Linked DNA regions of Homo sapiens: all the other regions are linked to region 3. Evidence: promoter capture Hi-C in human tissues and cell types (Jung and others, 2019). All regions are on one chromosome and are shown on one strand. Each heading gives the region's core, a stretch centred on a gene start or on the middle of the fragment in contact. The rest is flanking DNA. Distances are from core to core; before and after follow the strand shown. Region 1 holds the start of AKT1 (AKT serine/threonine kinase 1). Region 2 has its middle 14 kb from the start of CEP170B. Region 3 holds the start of CDCA4 (cell division cycle associated 4).

What was found. The method cuts DNA at HindIII sites, captures the fragments that hold promoters and counts their contacts. A contact is called where the count stands out against the background at its distance.
Region 1: the fragment with the promoter of AKT1 here is called in contact with the fragment with the promoter of CDCA4 in region 3 in 1 of the 25 tissues and cell types used here (liver).
Region 2: a fragment that was not itself captured here is called in contact with the fragment with the promoter of CDCA4 in region 3 in 1 of the 25 tissues and cell types used here (dorsolateral prefrontal cortex).

The regions. Positions count from the first base shown.
Region 1 is chr14:104,794,397-104,798,187 of GRCh38, reverse strand. It overlaps AKT1 (AKT serine/threonine kinase 1), which reads left to right and starts at 2,440. Exons shown (of 15, transcript NM_001382430.1): 1 at 2,440-2,704. RefSeq lists enhancers at 1-518, 519-1,291, 3,333-3,791 and silencers at 2,129-2,488, 2,669-2,718, 2,749-3,068. The HindIII fragment of the contact is 31,557 bases long and covers 1-3,791 here.
Region 2 is chr14:104,849,781-104,853,310 of GRCh38, reverse strand. No RefSeq gene overlaps it. Among named protein-coding and RNA genes, the nearest start is that of CEP170B, 14 kb to the left of the region's middle. The HindIII fragment of the contact is 3,543 bases long and covers 1-3,463 here.
Region 3 is chr14:105,018,781-105,022,737 of GRCh38, reverse strand. CDCA4 (cell division cycle associated 4) reads left to right here and starts at 1,655. Exons shown (of 2, transcript NM_017955.4): 1 at 1,655-1,739. RefSeq lists enhancers at 860-919, 935-1,448, 1,963-2,478, 2,930-3,590 and silencers at 1,220-1,289, 1,320-2,209, 2,220-2,309. The HindIII fragment of the contact is 13,458 bases long and covers 1-3,957 here.

The sequences.
Region 1 (3,791 bases), core at 1,191-3,690, 230 kb after region 3:
TGGAAGGAGGGCCCAGCTAGGAATGGGCTAGATGAAGGGGAGGGGACAGTGGGAGAGAAGCTCCTTATCCCTCTCAGGTCGGGATGTCTGGGTTCAAGTCCCTCCTGCCCCACACCGATCAGGGAAGGGGGGCTGTTCCAGGCAGAGACCGCCCAGAGTTGGTGCTGGGATCCTGGCCAGCCTGTAGTCCTCAGAGCCCCTGTGACTGGCTGGGTCTCAAGTGCAGGAATGACAGGACACCGTCACACAGCCACTGTCGCGGCGGTGGTGGTTCAGGCAGAACCTCTGCAGACTCAGGCGGCCATCTGGCCTGGGAGCTGCCCTGAGGCCCCGCCCTGCAGCTGCTGCTGGGACCTACACAGCCCAGGGCCCTCGAGTCCTGCCCCCGGCCAGCAGCTGCAGAAGGTGACAGGGCAGGAGGCCCCTGAGCTCTGGGAGGAGGCAGCCGTCGGGCCCTTCCCTGGTGCAGCAGTTTTTGTCGGAAACATCTGGCCACAGAGCACCTCAGCAGTCCCAGCAGCAGCCGTGGGGCTGGGTTCTCTCCTGACCATTCTGTCTGGGGTGGGAGGGGGTGTTCTTGAAGAGAGGACTCTGCTTTCCCTCTGGGACGCTGGAGGAGAGGGAGATGGCCCTGCCCACTGGGAGATCCCCGTCTTGGGGGAGGGCAGTTCATGCCAAGGTGAAGACAGGACTGGAGTGTGGGGCCCACAGTGGGTTGCAGGCACCAGCAGATGCCAGGGCACCAGGCTGGGAAGACTGGGAGGCCTCCTTGGAGACAGCCAGTGCAAAATAAGCAAGAGGTCCAACCACTTCAAGAACAGCCCGCAATGTCACTGCCTCTTCCATGAGAGGGTGCCCTGCTCCCTCCCACATCCCCAAGCCTCGGCCACTTGCTGGCCTTGTCTCATGGCCCTCTTACCCTCTGCTTCCTCCCTGAATTCCTTCCTCCATCCTTGCATGGCAGAGCCCAGGATGGTGGACAGATACCAGGAACTCTTCCTCGGGGAGCAGTGGGCAGGTGGGACAGTCCCAGAGGGAGCCCCAGGTGGCTCATGGTGCAGGTTTGCTGGGTGAGAGACAGACACCAGACGCCCAGGCTCTGGGGGCAACCCTTGTGTCAGGTATCCCACCCAAGCGGCGCAGACCACTGGGCCTCTGACTTGGCCCCCTGGAGGTGGGCCCTTCCTGGGGTTACAAAGTCTGAGCTGGGAGGGAGCAGAGGTGCTCAGGCGAGAGGCAGGAATGGGGAGTCCCCTGTCTGAGGAGCGAGTGCCCTCATGCAGGGGGAGAGAGTCCTTCTCTTGGTCAGCCCCAAGAGGCAGGGATGAAGCCCGAGTTTTGGCTGCAGACTCTGTCCTGAGCACTGGGCCGAACCTGCTGCCTCTGTCTGCATCTCCTCCCACCCCCTCCCCTGCTGCCAGCTGAACTCACTCTGGCTGAAAATAAAAATGCTCCCCCAACCCCAATACTTAGCAGCCTCAGGAAGGTAACTCACAAGAGTCTGTCTTTCACAAAAGGGTTATTATCAACTGTGGGCCTCTGGAATGGGGGAGGGGCAGTTGTCGGAGGAACTTCTGGCTAGGAAGGGGTCGGGGTGGCAGTCACCTGCACTCTCCTGTGAGTGTCCAGGAGAAAGGGGTCTGTGTCCCACTTACTCATTCCATACCCGGGCCATCTGCCTCCCAGTGGACTTCGGACTGGGTGTCCGGGCTGACCAAGTCCACCCAGCAGGGAGGGCTCTGGGCTGTCAGCTGTCACAGCCCACCCTAGACACCGCTCCTCCTCTGTCTGGTGTCTGCTCCCAGCTCAAGGTGGGAGCCAGGCAAGGTGTGCCCCTCTTCTCCCACTCCCCAGCAAAGTCCCCCTTTTGTGAGTGTAGCTGCCAGTACCTAGGTGAATGGTTGACTCCCCTCGGAGCCTTCCTGCTCCTTGGAGGCCCACCTCCAACTGACCTCCTGTCCTGGCATCCTCCCGCACTTCCCCCAGAGGCACAAGGTCTTGGGATTGGGCCTTTTAGGTCACTCTTGGCCGCCCCCTCCACGCCCCCCAGAGTGGGGCAGCCTGAAAGTCAACCTAAGCCACCCCCGCCCCGCGCGCGGAGGCAGAAGTCCGGGATTCGTCCCTGACCTGTCTCGGGCCCCTTCTGCTAGGGTCACGGCAGAGCGAGCCCAGAAGCGCCGGGTCACTTTACAGACGGGGAAACTGAGGCCAGAGAGGGCGTGGCCCCGGGACGGGCTGGCTGGTGGCCGGGCTCCGTTAGCGGCCCAGCCCAGGCCCCAGGTCGTCGGGAGCTGCCCCTCAGCCCGGCCGCGCGCTCCCCGAGCGCGCTCCGCCCTCGCCGCCGGCCGCGCGGTGGGGACGCCCCGGGCGGCGGAGGCGGATGTGGGCGGGCGGCTCCGGGCGCGGGGCGGGCGCGGGGCGGGGAGAGGGCGGGCCGGCGGCGGCGGCAGGACCGAGCGCGGCAGGCGGCTGGCCCAGCGCACGCAGCGCGGCCCGAAGACGGGAGCAGGCGGCCGAGCACCGAGCGCTGGGCACCGGGCACCGAGCGGCGGCGGCACGCGAGGCCCGGCCCCGAGCAGCGCCCCCGCCCGCCGCGGCCTCCAGCCCGGCCCCGCCCAGCGCCGGCCCGCGGGGATGCGGAGCGGCGGGCGCCGGAGGCCGCGGCCCGGCTAGGCCCGCGCTCGCGCCCGGACGCGGCGGCCCGGTGAGTCCCCGCCCGCCGTGGCCGCCCGGGCCTGGATTTCCTCCCCGCGGGCCGGGCCGCTTTGTTCGCGGCCGGTCGGGCCGGGGCGCGAGCCGCGGCGCCGCCAGAATGGAGGAGCGGGAGCAGGAAGTGGCCGAGCGGGCCTGGGCGGGGAGGGCGCGGGGCGCGCGGGCCCGGCCAAGGGAGGGCGGCCCCACGCCGGGCGCCGGGGGTGCAGGCTGCCGGCCCCAGCCTCCCTCATGACCTTGGGGAGGCCGCTCCGCCGGGCGAGGCCGGGACCCGAGAGAAGGGACGCCGCCGGGCCTGGAGCTGGGGCTCGGGGTGCCCCTGCGGGCCGTGGGGCTCCCCGGGCGCTGGGCCAGCGAGGCAGCCGGCGGAGGTGCCCCGGGGTTGGAGAAAGACTCGCCGCGGCCGGCCTTCAAGTTTGTGGGAGGGCCCCGGAAGGAGACTTCGTTTCCCACGGACGAAAAGTTGTACGTGGTGGCGGGGTACCCAGGCTAGCCACAAAGGACTGTGACCCTCCTGGGCCCCGGAACTGCTTCCTGTCTTGGGTGGGCCCTGGAGGTCCTGCCCGCCCATCCCAGAGGCCAAGGCTTGGAGGGCAGCTGGGGCTTGCCCCTTAGATTGAGTATCCTGGGGCGCTAGCGAGCTTGGTCCTGTCGGGACGGCCTCTGAGTGCTGCCTTGGTCAGCGGGTGAGCTTGGGCCCCTGCTCTGCAGCCAGAGGCCGCCCCACATTCACTCCTGGGTCTCTCGGCCTTGCTCCAGGTGGCCACTTCTTGACTGCTTTGAGTCCCTCATCCGAGCGAAGGGCGGACGGAGTCCGTTGGTGGGGGTCCGGTTGCCTCTCCCGGGAGCTGTGTAGACTTCTCATACACCAGGGTTCTGGAGGCAGATGGAGGAGCCCTTTCGAAAACAGAGTATTTTTTTTTAAGTTGTGACTTAATAATAGTAGCAAGAATATGTGCTTATGGTAAAGGCAGGCGGCAGGTACGGAGGCTGTGGGAAGTCGGGGTCCCTCCGCCCCCACAGGCAGCCCTGTGCTGGCCTGGTGTATACGTTTCTGTGCAGACGTACACCACCCTGTG
Region 2 (3,530 bases), core at 443-2,942, 170 kb after region 3:
TGGCTGCAAGTGATCCTCCCACCTCACCCTCCCAAGTACCTGGGACTACAGGTGCACTCTGCCACGCCAGCTAATTTTTTAAATTTTTGTAAATATGGGGCCTCAGTATGTTGCCCAGGCTGTTATTGAATTCCCGGCCTCAAACGATCCTCCTGCTTCAGTCTCCCAAAGTGCTGGGATTACAGGTGTGAACCACTGTACCTCGCCCTGCACACGTGCTTAGATATGCTTTCTCCAAGTACTGTTCTTTGGAATACTGGTAATAAATATTTCTATGAGCTGGGCACGGTGGCTCACTCCTGTAATCCCAGCATTTTGGGAGGCTGAGGCGGGCGGATCATCTAAGGTCAGGAGTGCAAGACCAGCCTGACCAACATGGATAAACCCCATCTCTACTAAAGATACAAAATTAGCTGCGCGTGGTGGCGCATGCCTGTAGTCCCAGCTACTCGGGAGGCTGAGGCAGGAGAATTGCTTGAACCCGGGAGGCAGAGGTTGCGGTGAGCTGAGATCGCACCACTGCACTCCAGCCTGGACAACAAGAGTGAAACTCCATCTCAAAAAAAAAATTTTTTTTTCTATGGAAAAAAGTCTATTTTGTGAGATATACATATATTTTTTTTTAAATAAAAATGTGTTGGTCCACCCCCCCCACACCTCCACCCCTGCAGTCAAAGCCACTGACCATGGAGCCAGGAGCCACCCAATGAGGTGTCTTTTCTCTAAGGATGGTGAAGTTAGAGAAGGCTCCTTTAAACCTCCTCCACCATGTGCCAGAAACCCAGAGAACACTCACGGCGGCCCTGAGCTCTCGAGAATCGTTGTGCAATGCCCATTCCAGCAGCCATGCACATCTCATGGCCAGGGTGAGCCTAGGAAGGAAGGGCAGAGGATGACACATTCGACGTGAGTAGGACTTTCTGTGTGTCCACTCTGTGGGGCTCTTCTTTGGAACGTCACTGTGGACACAGGAGTCAGAGGTGAACGAAGGCACTGAGAGGGGATGGGGCACTGGCATTGGAGGAGTGAGGAGCACCCAGCCATCCTTATTCGCTTTACTGCTTTTGGCAGTTTTTCTGTTTGATGTGTTAATTCGTGTACACGCTGCATGCCAGCCGCCACTGATGGCCGCCTTAACGGCGGTGCTGACCACGGCTGCTTTGTCAGCACAGGTGAAGCTGTTGAAACGCCTCTCAGAGGGGCCTCTGGTGGCACTGCCCATCTCTTCCCTCAGCCTCTCCTGAGTGAGGCCTGCTGCGGGGTTTCCGAGAGTTCCCTCAGGAAGCGGCAGAAGGGAGCAGATGCCCGAGGTCAGGTGCCTGAGAGACGGTAGCATTTGGACAGCCCAGTAGCCTTTCCCATGGTCACGCAAATTCTCCTGAAACTCAGGCAGGGTCTGAAGAAACACAAGATGGCACAAAGCCATCCCCAGAGCCGTGGGTCCCACGTGGTTAAATGTGGAAAACACTCGCTGAGGGTCATAGTGGAAAACAGCGGCTGGAGATGGGGTCTTCCTGTTGGCTGCCGAGACGGTGACATCTACAGGTGTTGAGTGGCTAAAAAAATGTATTCCTTGCAATGCCTCACAGACATGGTAACGTATGCACATATGCGTAGTGGCCTGCCAGGGCTGGTAAGATAACATCCCTTCTATATTCAGGGAGATGAAATCTGATCTTTTTTTTTTTTTTTTTTTTTTTGAGACAGAGTCTTGCTCTGTCACCCAGGCTGGAGTGCAGTGGCGTGATCTTGGCTCACTGCAACCTTCGCCTCCCAGGTTCAAGCGATTCTCCTGCCTCAGCCTCCTGAGTACCTGGGACTACAGGTGCCCACCACCACGCCTGGCTAATTTTTTGCATCTTTAGTAGAAACAAGGTTTCACTGTGTTGCCCAGACTGGTCTCAAACTCCTGAGCTCAGGCAATCCACCCGCCTCAGCCTCCCAAAGTGCTAGGATTACAGGTGCCAGCCACCGCGCCTGGCCAGAATCTGATCTTTTGATGGATAGTTGCAGAAAAGTCTTCTGCTATATTCCTAATCAAAGTCTTCTTAGAATATTGAAATATCACCTTTTTAGTAAGCGAAATGCCTTTTCATTTTATCCAAAACAACACAGATAGAACTATTTGTTTCATGTGTCAGATTTTATATTCCTTTCATATCACTACATTTCCCCTTGTGTTTTTTCACTCATGCACATGCAGTCTTTGTACTTTTTTTTTTTTTTTTTTGAGATGGAGTTTCATTCTTGTTGTCCAGGCAGGAGTGCAATGGCATGATCTTGGTTCACTGCAACTTCCGCCTCCCAGGTTCAAGTGATTCTCCTGCCTCAGCCTCCCGAGTAGCTGAGATTACAGGCGTGCACCACCACGCCCGGCTAATTTTGTATATTTAGTAGAGATGGGGTTTTCAAGTTGGCCAGGCTGGTCTCCAACTCCTGACCTCAGGTGATCCACCTGCCTCTGCCTCCCAAAGTGCTGGGATTACAGGTGTGAGCCACCACACCTGGCCTGTGCCTGGCTAATTTTAAAGTTTTTTTGTAGAGATGAGGTCTTGCTATGTTACCCAGGCTGGTCTTGAACTCCTGACCTCAATAGATCCTCCTGCCTTAGCCCACAAAGTGCTGAAATTACAGGTGTGAGCCACCATGCCTGGCCCTAATTTTAATAATTTCTTATATCAATCAAATCATCCAGTAGATCATTCTTCCTGTCTACCAGGCAAATCTATAAGTACTCATTATCATTTATTAGGCCATTTAATTCTTTTTTTTTTTTTTTTGAAACGGAGTTTCTTTCTTGTTGCCTAGGCTGGAGTACAATGGCGTGATCTTGGCTCACTGTAACCTCCACCTCCCAGGTCCAAGCGATTCTCCTGCCTCAGCTTCCCAAGTAGCTGGGATTACGGGCATGCACCACAACACCTGGCTAATTTTGTATTTTTAGTAGAGACGGGGTTTCTCCGTGTTGGTCAGGCTGGTCTCGAACTCCTGACCTCAGGTGATCTGCCTGCCTCGGCCTCCCAAAGTGCTCGGAGCACAGGCGTGAGCCACCGCGCCCGGCCCCATTTAATTCTTTATAGTAATCAGGAACCTCTATGCTCTCAAAAATAAAGCTTCCCACAAAGCAAAAACACCTACTTGTGGCTGTGGTAAATAACAAGTATCAGACACCAAAAGCAACTCTAAAAACTAGTTTAAAAACAACAACAGGCCGGGCACGGTGGCTCACGCCTGTAATCCCAGCACTTTGGGAGGCTGAGGCGGGTGGATCACGAGGTCAGGAGTTCAAGACCAGCATGACCAACATGGTGGAACCCCGTCTCTACTAAAAATACAAAAAATTAGCCAGGCGTGGTGGCAGGTGCCTGTACTCCCAGGTACTTGGGAGGCTGAGGCGGGAAAACGGTGTGAACCCAGGAGGTGGAGCTTGCATTGAGCCGAGATCGAGCCATTGCATTCCAGCCTGGGCGACAGAGCAAGACTCTGTCTCAAAACAACAGCAACAACATAACAGCTGTTTGAAGGCATTG
Region 3 (3,957 bases), core at 406-2,905:
TAGATTTCATTTGCATTTGCAGAATATCTGTATATTAAGGAATTTAACCTTTATGTGGGATACAGCCAGGAAAAACTTTTTTCCCCATTTGTCTTTTCACTTTGACATGCATAAACTTTAAATTCTCAGGTAGTCACCTTTATCAAGTCCCATTTTCTTTTACCTGGGCAGTAACCTAATGGGATTTTCTACTTCCAGCCTTCCTGCCACCTCCTCCAAATCTATTACCAACAGTGATTCTTGGTGGTTGTGGTGCCTCATGCCTGTAATCCCAGAACTTTGGGAGGCCAAGGTAGGAGGATCACTTAAGGCCAGGAGTTGGAGACCAGCCTGTGTAACAAGACAATACCCTGTCTCTACAAAATTACCAAAAAAAAAAAAAAAGTTAGCTTGGTGTAGTGGCACACTTCTGTAGTCCCAGCTACTTGGGAGGCTGAGGCGTGAGAATCACTCGAGCACAAGAGTTCGAGGATACAGTGAGCCATAATCACGCCACTGTTGTCCAGCCTGGGCGAAAGAGACCCCCTTTTTTTTTTTTTTAAATAAGAACAGTGATTCTTTTCAAGCACAATTCAGATTCCAGTTCCTTCTCTGCTGACCATGCCAGTAGTCTCCATCCCACTCCCAGAATAGCCCAAAAGTCCCTCCACCCCTCACACTTAAAACTTTCCCACGAGATCACAGGGTTCTTTCTCACTGCACTGAGACGTGCTCCTGCCTCCTGCCCCTGCCTCGGGCTTTGCCCCAGCCATTCCTCTCCTGAATTCTCGTCCACTCTTCCTTTTGGTGCTTTAAGACGCTCCTTATCCTAGAGACCTATGTGAGCAGCGCCCCCACGTCACTCCCAGGTTTCCCGACAGCATTTCAGCATTTACCACCGACCTTGGCGCATCCGCACCTGCGGATTGATCTGAGGATTCCCCCCCAACTTCCAGCACTTGGCTCTCAGCTGCAGCCACGCCTGCCGGGCCTGCTGCAGGCGCTCAGGGTATTACTTAAGTCAATGATTGCAGGTTCTCGCATCCTATTTAAAACCTTTTCCACTAAGAGATTTAAAACACGTGTCCCCTGCTTTGAACTTTCACGTTACATTTCTTACGTGTAAACCTAGGAAGCCTTTGGAGATAACCCCGGTCTCTGGAGAGGCTTGGATAGACCTCGGAGCCCAGACCGCCCGGGAATTGCCGTGCCCGGCTCCTCCCGACCCCGGCACGGATGCCTCGGCGGAGAAGTTGAGCCAGGCAGAAGCGAGAGAGTCCAAACCTCTGTTTGCCCCGCCACGCCCGCCCGAGGGCCCCACGTGGGCCCCAGGCGCAGGCGCGTTCAGTTCAGGGCCAGACGCGCGGAGACCTGGGAGCTGGCGGGGCGGGGCCGGACTGGGCGCGGGGAGACCTGGGAGCCGGCGGGGCGTGGGCGTGGCGGGGCCGGGCGCAGGGGCGGGGGCGGGGCAACCGAGGGCGCGCGCGAGCCCCAACGGCCGTCGCCGCAGCGCGGGAAGACGCGCCACAGATGCCCCGCCCGCGTGGGTTTGAACAAGAGGCCCCGCCCCCGGCCCGCGAGTGGCCAATCAGCGGGCGTAGCGCGCGGAGAGCGCAGCGTCGACCCTTTGTGGACGCCGAGTGGCGGTCGCTCGCCCCGCCCCGCGCCGTCGGGCGCTCCTTCCTCAGCGGCGGGAAGCTGGCGGCAGCGGCGGTGGCGGTGGCTGAGCAGAGGACCCGGCGGGCGGCCTCGCGGGTCAGGTGAGCGGGCCCGGCGGACCGCTAGGGCGTCTACGGCGGCGTGCACTTTTGTGCTGCAGGGCGCGGAGGAGCCTGGGGGCGGTGCGCGGAGTCTGTGGCTCCTGGCGCTGGGTCCGGGGCGGAGGCGGCGCCCGGGACCACCGCTGGGGCTGCCGCGGCGCCCTCGCCGCCCTCCTGGGCGCTGGTTCCCCCGCGGGGTGGCCGCTGCTGAGGGGGCCCGGGGAACAGAGGGGCCCGGGCCGCCGTCTGCGTTCCTTGCGGAGCGCGGAGCTGGGGCTTTGCCGAGGCCTGCGGGCGGCCCCACGCGGGAGCCGCTTCACGAGGGCCCGGCTGGGGTACGCAGCGGCGTTTCCCGTACCTCGGCTCTAGTTGCAGCGGAGGGAACGCCAGGCGCGCCGCAGCCCCCTCTGTCGGAGCCCGGCCGCGGAGAGGGCCGCGGATGTGGGAGGAGGCCCAGACCCCGGGCGGGTCGGCCAGCGCCGTCTTCCCTGGGCTCCTCCGGCGGTGCGAGGTGGGACTAGGGAAAGTCCCCGAGACACTTGCAGAAGTCAGACGCAAGCCTCCCTCCGCGTCTTCAGACGCTTCTCGCCCCGCAAACAGGATCGTCGTGGCAAAGGCTCCGACAGCTTGCTGGAATAGAGGGTCTCCGCTGCCTCGCTTCTCCTGTGGCCTTCGTGTGGGACGCACGGGACGGCGGGACCCAGATAACCGTTCTCTCAAAGCGAGCCACAGAAAAACATTGCCTGTTCACAAAACTTACGTTTTATCAACTTTCTACGTACAACCACTCTATTTTCAAGTGTCACCGTGTTTTATAATTAGGGTGGAAATCCAGAATACAAAGTGAGTTACACCCCTTTTCTAGGAAGAGTAGTAGGCTGTATCTTGGAAAAGGGGCTAGGAAGTTTCCCTCAACTTGCCACTGGAACATGTTTTCAGGGAAAAGAAGGAGTGTGTTTCGTTCCAAGTAACAAAAGTACCTGCAATTGGCTGGGCGCGGTAGCTCACACCTCCCAGCACTTTGAGAGGAGGCCTAGGCGGGTGGATCTCCTGAGGTCCCGAGTTCGAGACTAGCTGGCCAACGTGGTGAAACCCCGTCTGTACTAAAAATACAAAAATTAGCTGGGCGTGATGGCGCATGCCTGTAATCATAATCCTAGCTATGTGGGAGGCTGAGGCAGGAGAATCGCTTGAACCAGAAAGGCAGAGGTCTCAGCCGAGATCGTGCCATTGCACTCCAGCCTGGGCGACAGAGCGAGACTCCGTCTCAAAAAACAAAAAAAACCAAATACCTGAAATTAACATAACAGTAATTGTTCATGAACAGCCTCCAGGAGACTTGTAGTGGAAGGTGGAGCTCCCACTCAGTACTCAAGACTGCAGACCTTGCTCCTCTTCTCCCTGTTTTTCCGATAAAGTATTTCAAAGCTTATCTGATGTGTGAGGAATGGAAATTGTTGATGATTTGCTTAAAAACCCGAAACTTTGAAGTGGCTGCAAGTCCAGCTGTGAAGGTGACAGGTTAGGTCAGAGTTGAGTCTGTCCCCAACCGTCCCAGCCCTACTGATCAGAATCTGGGAATCTGCGTTTTCAGCCAGCCTCGTGGTATTGCTCAGCCACGAAGGTGTGGCCACTGCTGCTGTAGTGAAGGACCAGTCCCCGAGCTGTACTCTGCTTGCCTGAGCAGCACTGCGGGGCTGCTCCCTGCTGGCCTCTGCCTCGGTGGGCCTAGGTTGCTCTGTCCCTAGTGGCCTGTTGGCTGTTCCACCTGCCATGTCGGACATGTCCTCAGTCCGTCTGGCCCTCTTCGTTTTTCTCTGTCTGGTCGGTGCTTGGTTTAGAAGCCTGAGGGCAGTGCTGGGAGTTGACTGAGGGCTTGGCTGTCCCGGTAACAACCTGTGGAGTTGGTGGGATTTTAGGCATTTAACTAGATGTGTAGAAAGAGCTTCAAAACTGAGCAGGGGGCCAGGCATGGTGGCTCACGCCTGTAATCCAGCACTTTGGGAGGCCGAGATGGGCGGATTGCCTGAGTTCAGGAGTTCGAGATCAGCCTGGCCAACATGGTGAAACCCCGTCTCTACAAAAAATACAAAAATTAGCCGGGTGTGGTGGCGCGTGCCTGTAGTCCTAGCTACTCGGGAGGCTGAGGTAGGAGAATCGCTTGAACCTGGGAGGTGGAGGTTGCAGTGAGCTGAGATTGCATCACTGCACTCCAGCC